Linked DNA regions of Homo sapiens: region 1 is linked to region 2. Evidence: promoter capture Hi-C in 16 types of primary human blood cells and fetal thymus (Javierre and others, 2016). All regions are on one chromosome and are shown on one strand. The core of a region is centred on a gene start or on the middle of the fragment in contact, and the rest is flanking DNA. Distances in the headings are between cores, read along the strand shown. Region 1 overlaps LOC105371470 (a long non-coding RNA gene). Region 2 holds the start of SLAMF1 (signaling lymphocytic activation molecule family member 1).

What was found. The method cuts DNA at HindIII sites, captures the fragments that hold promoters and counts their contacts. A CHiCAGO score of 5 or more calls a contact.
Region 1: a fragment that was not itself captured here is called in contact with the fragment with the promoter of SLAMF1 in region 2 in 4 of 17 cell types (non-activated CD4 T cells, activated CD4 T cells, naive CD8 T cells and 1 more); the score reaches 7.9 in non-activated CD4 T cells.

Annotation. Positions count from the first base shown.
Region 1 is chr1:160,776,867-160,779,566 of GRCh38, forward strand. All of the region lies in intron 1 of LOC105371470 (a long non-coding RNA gene), which reads right to left. Among named protein-coding and RNA genes, the nearest start is that of LY9, 18 kb to the right of the region's middle. RefSeq lists enhancers at 547-596, 917-986. The HindIII fragment of the contact is 4,063 bases long and covers 1-2,700 here.
Region 2 is chr1:160,645,788-160,648,487 of GRCh38, forward strand. It overlaps SLAMF1 (signaling lymphocytic activation molecule family member 1), which reads right to left and starts at 1,257. Exons shown (of 7, transcript NM_003037.5): 1 at 1,083-1,257. The coding sequence starts at 1,158. It overlaps LOC107985220 (a long non-coding RNA gene), which reads left to right and starts at 1,222. Exons shown (of 2, transcript XR_001738266.2): 1 at 1,222-1,548; 2 at 1,686-2,700. RefSeq lists enhancers at 1,089-1,298, 1,339-1,388. The HindIII fragment of the contact is 11,196 bases long and covers 1,229-2,700 here.

The DNA.
Region 1 (2,700 bases), core at 147-2,646, 130 kb after region 2:
CTGAAGGGAACCAGGACTTCTTCTTCCACCCTCCCTGTCAACCCCAGAGCTGCTCAGGCCCCTGGGCAGACTGAGGAGCCTGGTACATATGCAGAAGTGAGGCACTGAGATAGGGTGGGAGCTGCTGTTACTGAATGGGTTCTTGACCATGCAGGTAAAAGTTAGAGCACTGTCCCCAAGCCTCAAGGAGACACTGAGGACAGACCCTCCACAGGACACAACAACAGTCTGGGGTCCCAGGGGTGTCCAGCTGTAAGTCACACTGCCTCCTCTGCTCTCTGCCACACATGTCAATGGCATATGAGAGTGACAATGCAGCATCCATCCTCACTAATCCTGGAGCTCAGTGTGACATGAGGCCAGGCCAGCTGCTCTGTGTGTGCGAAAGGGAATAAACTGAGGACTGGGAAACTGCTCTGGGCCTCCACTTCACAGGACAGAAAATGCACGGCATTAGTGCCCAAACCTTGCATCACCTTGAATACACAGAAGGAACAGCAGAGGCAGGATCTGCCCACATCTGTTCCAGAACTTTGTGCTATGTAAGGCCATGTCACTTAACATCTCAGTTGATTTCCAGAACAACTCCATGAACTAAACAGGGAAGATGTTATATCAACTCCATTTCACAGGCTCAGAATGCTTAGATAACCTGCCCAAAGTCTCATCTAGTTAAGTGGTAAAGCCAAAATCCAAATCCAGTGAATTTGAGCCCAAAACTGAGTTTCCCAACCCTGCCCTGAATAGATAAAGGAATGCAAGTACGGAGCTGTGTTGTAATTACATATTTTCCCCGTAGGGGGCTCTGCAGCATACACTGAGCTTCCAGGTGTTGATCAAGAGTCCCAGAGGAGGTGGCTGTGTGCCTTTGAGGTTTCTCCCACTCCCTTGCACTCCCTTGGACCTGCTCCCCGTCTCCTCTTGCCCCAGGGCCATGACCCAGATATTCTTAAGTGCTCGAGGTGTCCACATTGCCATTATTTGTCCACCAGCCTCCCAGGCCAGACCCAGGAGGATTTGGGGGAGGCGAGAAGAGCAGCTGCAGACACCAGGCCTGAAACACTCAACAAAGTCATATTGCATAGAACAAGGCTACTCTGCTACTCAGCCTCAGCCCTGTGGCCCACACGACTGCAGCCCCAGGGGAAACTCAACTGTGCAAAGTAGGACCACACAGGCCCAGCGTGTCCCCCAGGAGAAGGCAGCCTGGACATCCCCACAGGTGGGTACCTTGCTGCTGGCTCTCCCCACTGTGTCTCCTATATATCAGGCCCTGGGATGCAAGCCACTTGACTTCTATTGGCCCTTTTCTCATCCAATAAATATGGCGACATACCAGAAACCCAGAGAATGAAGGCACAGGGTACAGCATCAGAATACCTGAGTTCGATTCCCAAATCTGCCACTTTCTAGCTCCATGTCATAGGTGTCTTATTTTCCCTTTCTAAGATTCCGTTTCCTTCCTAGAAATGAAAACTCCTGACCTGCATACTGGCAGGGCTGTTGTGAGGCTGCAGTGATGGGAAACACCCTGTGAAGGATGGAGCCTGACCATTAGCACTGCCTTGCCATTGGGATGTCAACCCAGAGAGAGAAGGGCTCTCTGGAAGACCCCACCCCTGATGGATTGGCACAACCCTATCCTCTACCCAGACTCCACCTGACACCATACCACACTAAGTAAGTGCTATCAGAATGACTATCAGCGAGGCCAAAGGGCCTCTCCCACCAGTTTTGGGCCCACCCTACCCTAGTGAGCAACCCAACCCCAAGTCCCAGCAACCCACTTCCATTGTGCCCTGGTCCTGTTGTGAGAAGCAGGCCATAGCCAGCCCAGGCCTGATTTATGGCAGACACGCCTTCTCCCCAGCCATGTGGACCTGACCAGAGAGCAGCCCCATCAACTCCACTAAAAGAGTGCCTTCGTCTAATAGGAAGATTTCCTATCACAGAATCCAAGAAAAATGTCTGTGAAGGTTCTCTGCTGGCCTTCCCATGTCCATCCTCACTCACCACCTGTCCCCCTCGCTCATTGCAGGGGAACGGCTCTGCCATAGCACCCTGAGACCTTGCACATCTCTCTCAGGCAAAGGTTTCAACCTCTGCTAAACTGGGTCTTGGCAAAATGCCTTGTGATCCACCCAGAACACGAGAGTTCAGGTGGCCTGTGAGGCACAGCCTTGAAGCCATCTCCCCTGGGAGGCTGTCATGAGACTATTTCCCCTGGCTCCTGGGGTTCTGATGCAGTATGGGACTTCTTGTCCTCAGAACACAGCTGCGGTCTCTAAGTCCTCTTTGCTGAAGGTAGAATTGGCCCCTCGGCATCTGGGTATTCCACAGCTCCCACTGCAGCCATCTGGCCCCTTTTGTTTCAATGTCATCTTTTCTGGTGTGGGACAAGTGCCCAGGGATCTGGAACCCTTGGCTACTCTTCCATTCGTTATATGAATAATCAACTGTCTGAATCTCAAAGTGGCTCAGCGTAGCATCTTTCATAGGCCTTTCTCGGTGCTGTGTGTGCTTGATACCCACCCCATTGCTTCCTTTGTAGTTTCTCCTGCTAAGATTTTTTAAATTTCTTTAAGGAATTTGATAAGAGCATCCCTCTGCATCTGCATAGGCCTTTCCAAAGCACTTTCATATGTTTTCACTCTCACAAAAAGGTATTGTTCCCATTTTAGTAATGAGGAAGCTCCAGGC
Region 2 (2,700 bases), core at 7-2,506:
TTCGTCTGGCTGTCTGGTAAAAGACACATCCATTGTGCAGCACCCCCACATCCCTGGCATATCACGGTGCTTTTCCTGGAAAAGTCCATATTGGATTTGCGGTCTTGAAAACCCCAAGCTTAAAACACCCTGGGCCTCAGGATTTCCCCCCGTGTCCGTAATGCCACCTCTTCTACTCCAGGCTACCTCCCACAGTCTAAACAAATAAGCAGAAGGAGATTCTCACCCCACTCACACAGGCAGTCCAAAGTCCACTTCTTGCTTGGCTTTTTCTTTCTCAAATACCTTTTCTCATAGCCCTGATACTTCTAAACAGAAAGCAATAGCCTGCCTTGGGAAGAAGATAGACAGAAAGACAGGAACAGAGTCCAGATCCAAAGGTAGCTCTTGTCTGGCCTTCCTGCTGGAGCTACTCTCTGAGGGTTCCCAATTTGCATTTCCCACATACTGTAACCAGCCCTAGCCTTCAGAAATCCCAACTTCTTCCCTCTTGCTTTCTTGGACCTTCTCTTCCAAGAAAATACACACCAGTATGACCGCACTGTGGCCACTGCTGGTTCTCAGCCAAAAGCCTGGAGTTTTCACTTCTACTCTCTCTTCCCACTCTAGCCAATGCTTTCTGTTGACCCATGCTCCTGGTTTGTCAGCCTGCATGTGCACAGATTCCCTCCCAGGGCAGGGATGTAGGGCAAATCTTCTCCCAGAGCTCAGTCCATCCAGCTCAGTCTCTCTAGGCTGGGTCTTTGCCAGAAGATGCCCATGTAAAACCAACCACTCAAGCAAGACTTCTACCAGGGCCTGTCACCCTAAGACTGGTCAGAAAAGTGACTGGAGCCTTTGGCTTAGAGCCCCTCATTTCCTTGGAAACTGGGGTTGGTGGGGCTGAGTCTTGGAAACCCAAGGGCCCAGGAACTTATAATGTTCCTTCCTCTTTGAAAGAGGCAGTTGAAACTGACAGCCAGTCCCTAAGGAAGAGTGACCAAACACAATACCCAGCCCTGCACCTTCTCTCCATCCACGAAGATACGCTGATTCCTGGCAGCTAACATGGGACTCAAACCATCAGGCAGATGAACACTCACCTGTTCCGTAGCTTGCCCCAAAAGCCAGGGAGAGAAACAGCACGAAGGTCAAGGAGAGGAGCCCCTTGGGATCCATCAGCCAATGAGGAGAAGGAAGGGATCCTGGCCGGAGCCTGGCAGCTGCTCACAGATGCCAGGCAGAAGCAAGCTTCGTGTCATGCAGCAGAGGCTGTCTGATTTATGTATCAGGAACCAGCAGGTTCCTGAACCCGCTTCCTGTATCACTGGGACTTTTTCTGCTTGTGTCTTGAGGATTGCTCATCTCCCATGAGGCTTTAAATCACTTTTTTGTTCTCAAGAAGCAGGCTTCTCAAGAAGCCAGGCACTTAGCCTATGGGAGCCAGGAAAGGGGGTGTGTAGTCACCTCGGCCAAAACCCGGCTTTGGGCAGAAACATGCGCCCCAGCTTCTTTCCTTAGCTGTCTCCAGGAACCGGATGTTGCAGATTCTCTGAGCAGTTCTCTCCGGTAAGTCTTCTTGGATTGCAAAGAAAAGATGTTTCATTGGATCACTCCTCAAATTTGGCAGTTCACAGCTGAACTTAGATAACTGCATTTTGATGAGCTAATAGACCTCTTACTTCTGTTTTATTTCATAATTTCAGATGACACCTCAACATGCAGTCTGGTGCAGGTGCCACTGTCACACAGAGATGGGAAGGGCATGTGCGGGTCACTTGGAAGAAACCCTGTGACCCCGATGAGTGCAATGTGGTATAATTTAGTAGCCCATGCTCCTAGTTTGTCTTCTTGCATGTGTGTGGATTCCCTCCCAGGCAGGGATGTAGGACAAATCTATCCCAGAGCTCCATCCTTCCAGCTCAGTCTCCTTGTTGTGTGTGTGTTTTCTCCTCTAATTTTTAACGTCTGTGGGTACATAGTAGATATACATATATGTGTGTGTGTGTGTGTGTGTGTGTGTGTGTGTGTGTGTGTGTGTATGTATATATATATGTATGGGGTATGCATATATTTGTATGGGGTATATGAGATATGTTGATAGAGGCATGCAATATGTAATAATCACACAGGGTAAATGGGATATCCATCACCTCAAATATTTATCCTTTGTGTTACAAACAGTGCAATTATATTTTTATTTTTAAATGTGCAATTAAATTATTATTGACTATAGTCACACTGTTGTATTATCAAATACTAGTTCTTATTCATTCTTTCTATTTTTTTGTACCCATTAACCATCCCCACTTCTTCCCCAACCCCCACTACCCTTCAGCCTCTGGTAACCATCCTTCTACTCTCTATGCCCACAAGTTCAATTGTTTTAATTTTTACCTCTCACAAGCAAGTGAGAACGTGCAAAGTTTGTCTGTCTGTGCCTGGCTTATTTCACGTAACATAATGATCTTCAATTCCATCCATGTCATTGTGAATGACAGGATCTAATTCTTTTTTAGCTGAATAGTACTTCATTGTGTATATGTACCACATTTTCTTTATCCACTCATCGGTGATAGACGCTTAGGTCGCTTCCAACCTTGGCTATTGTGAATAGTGCTGTAATAAACATGGGAGTACAGATATCTCTTCAATATACTGATTTCTTTTCTTTTAGGTGTATACCTACCAGTGAGATTGTGGATCATATGGTAGCTCTAT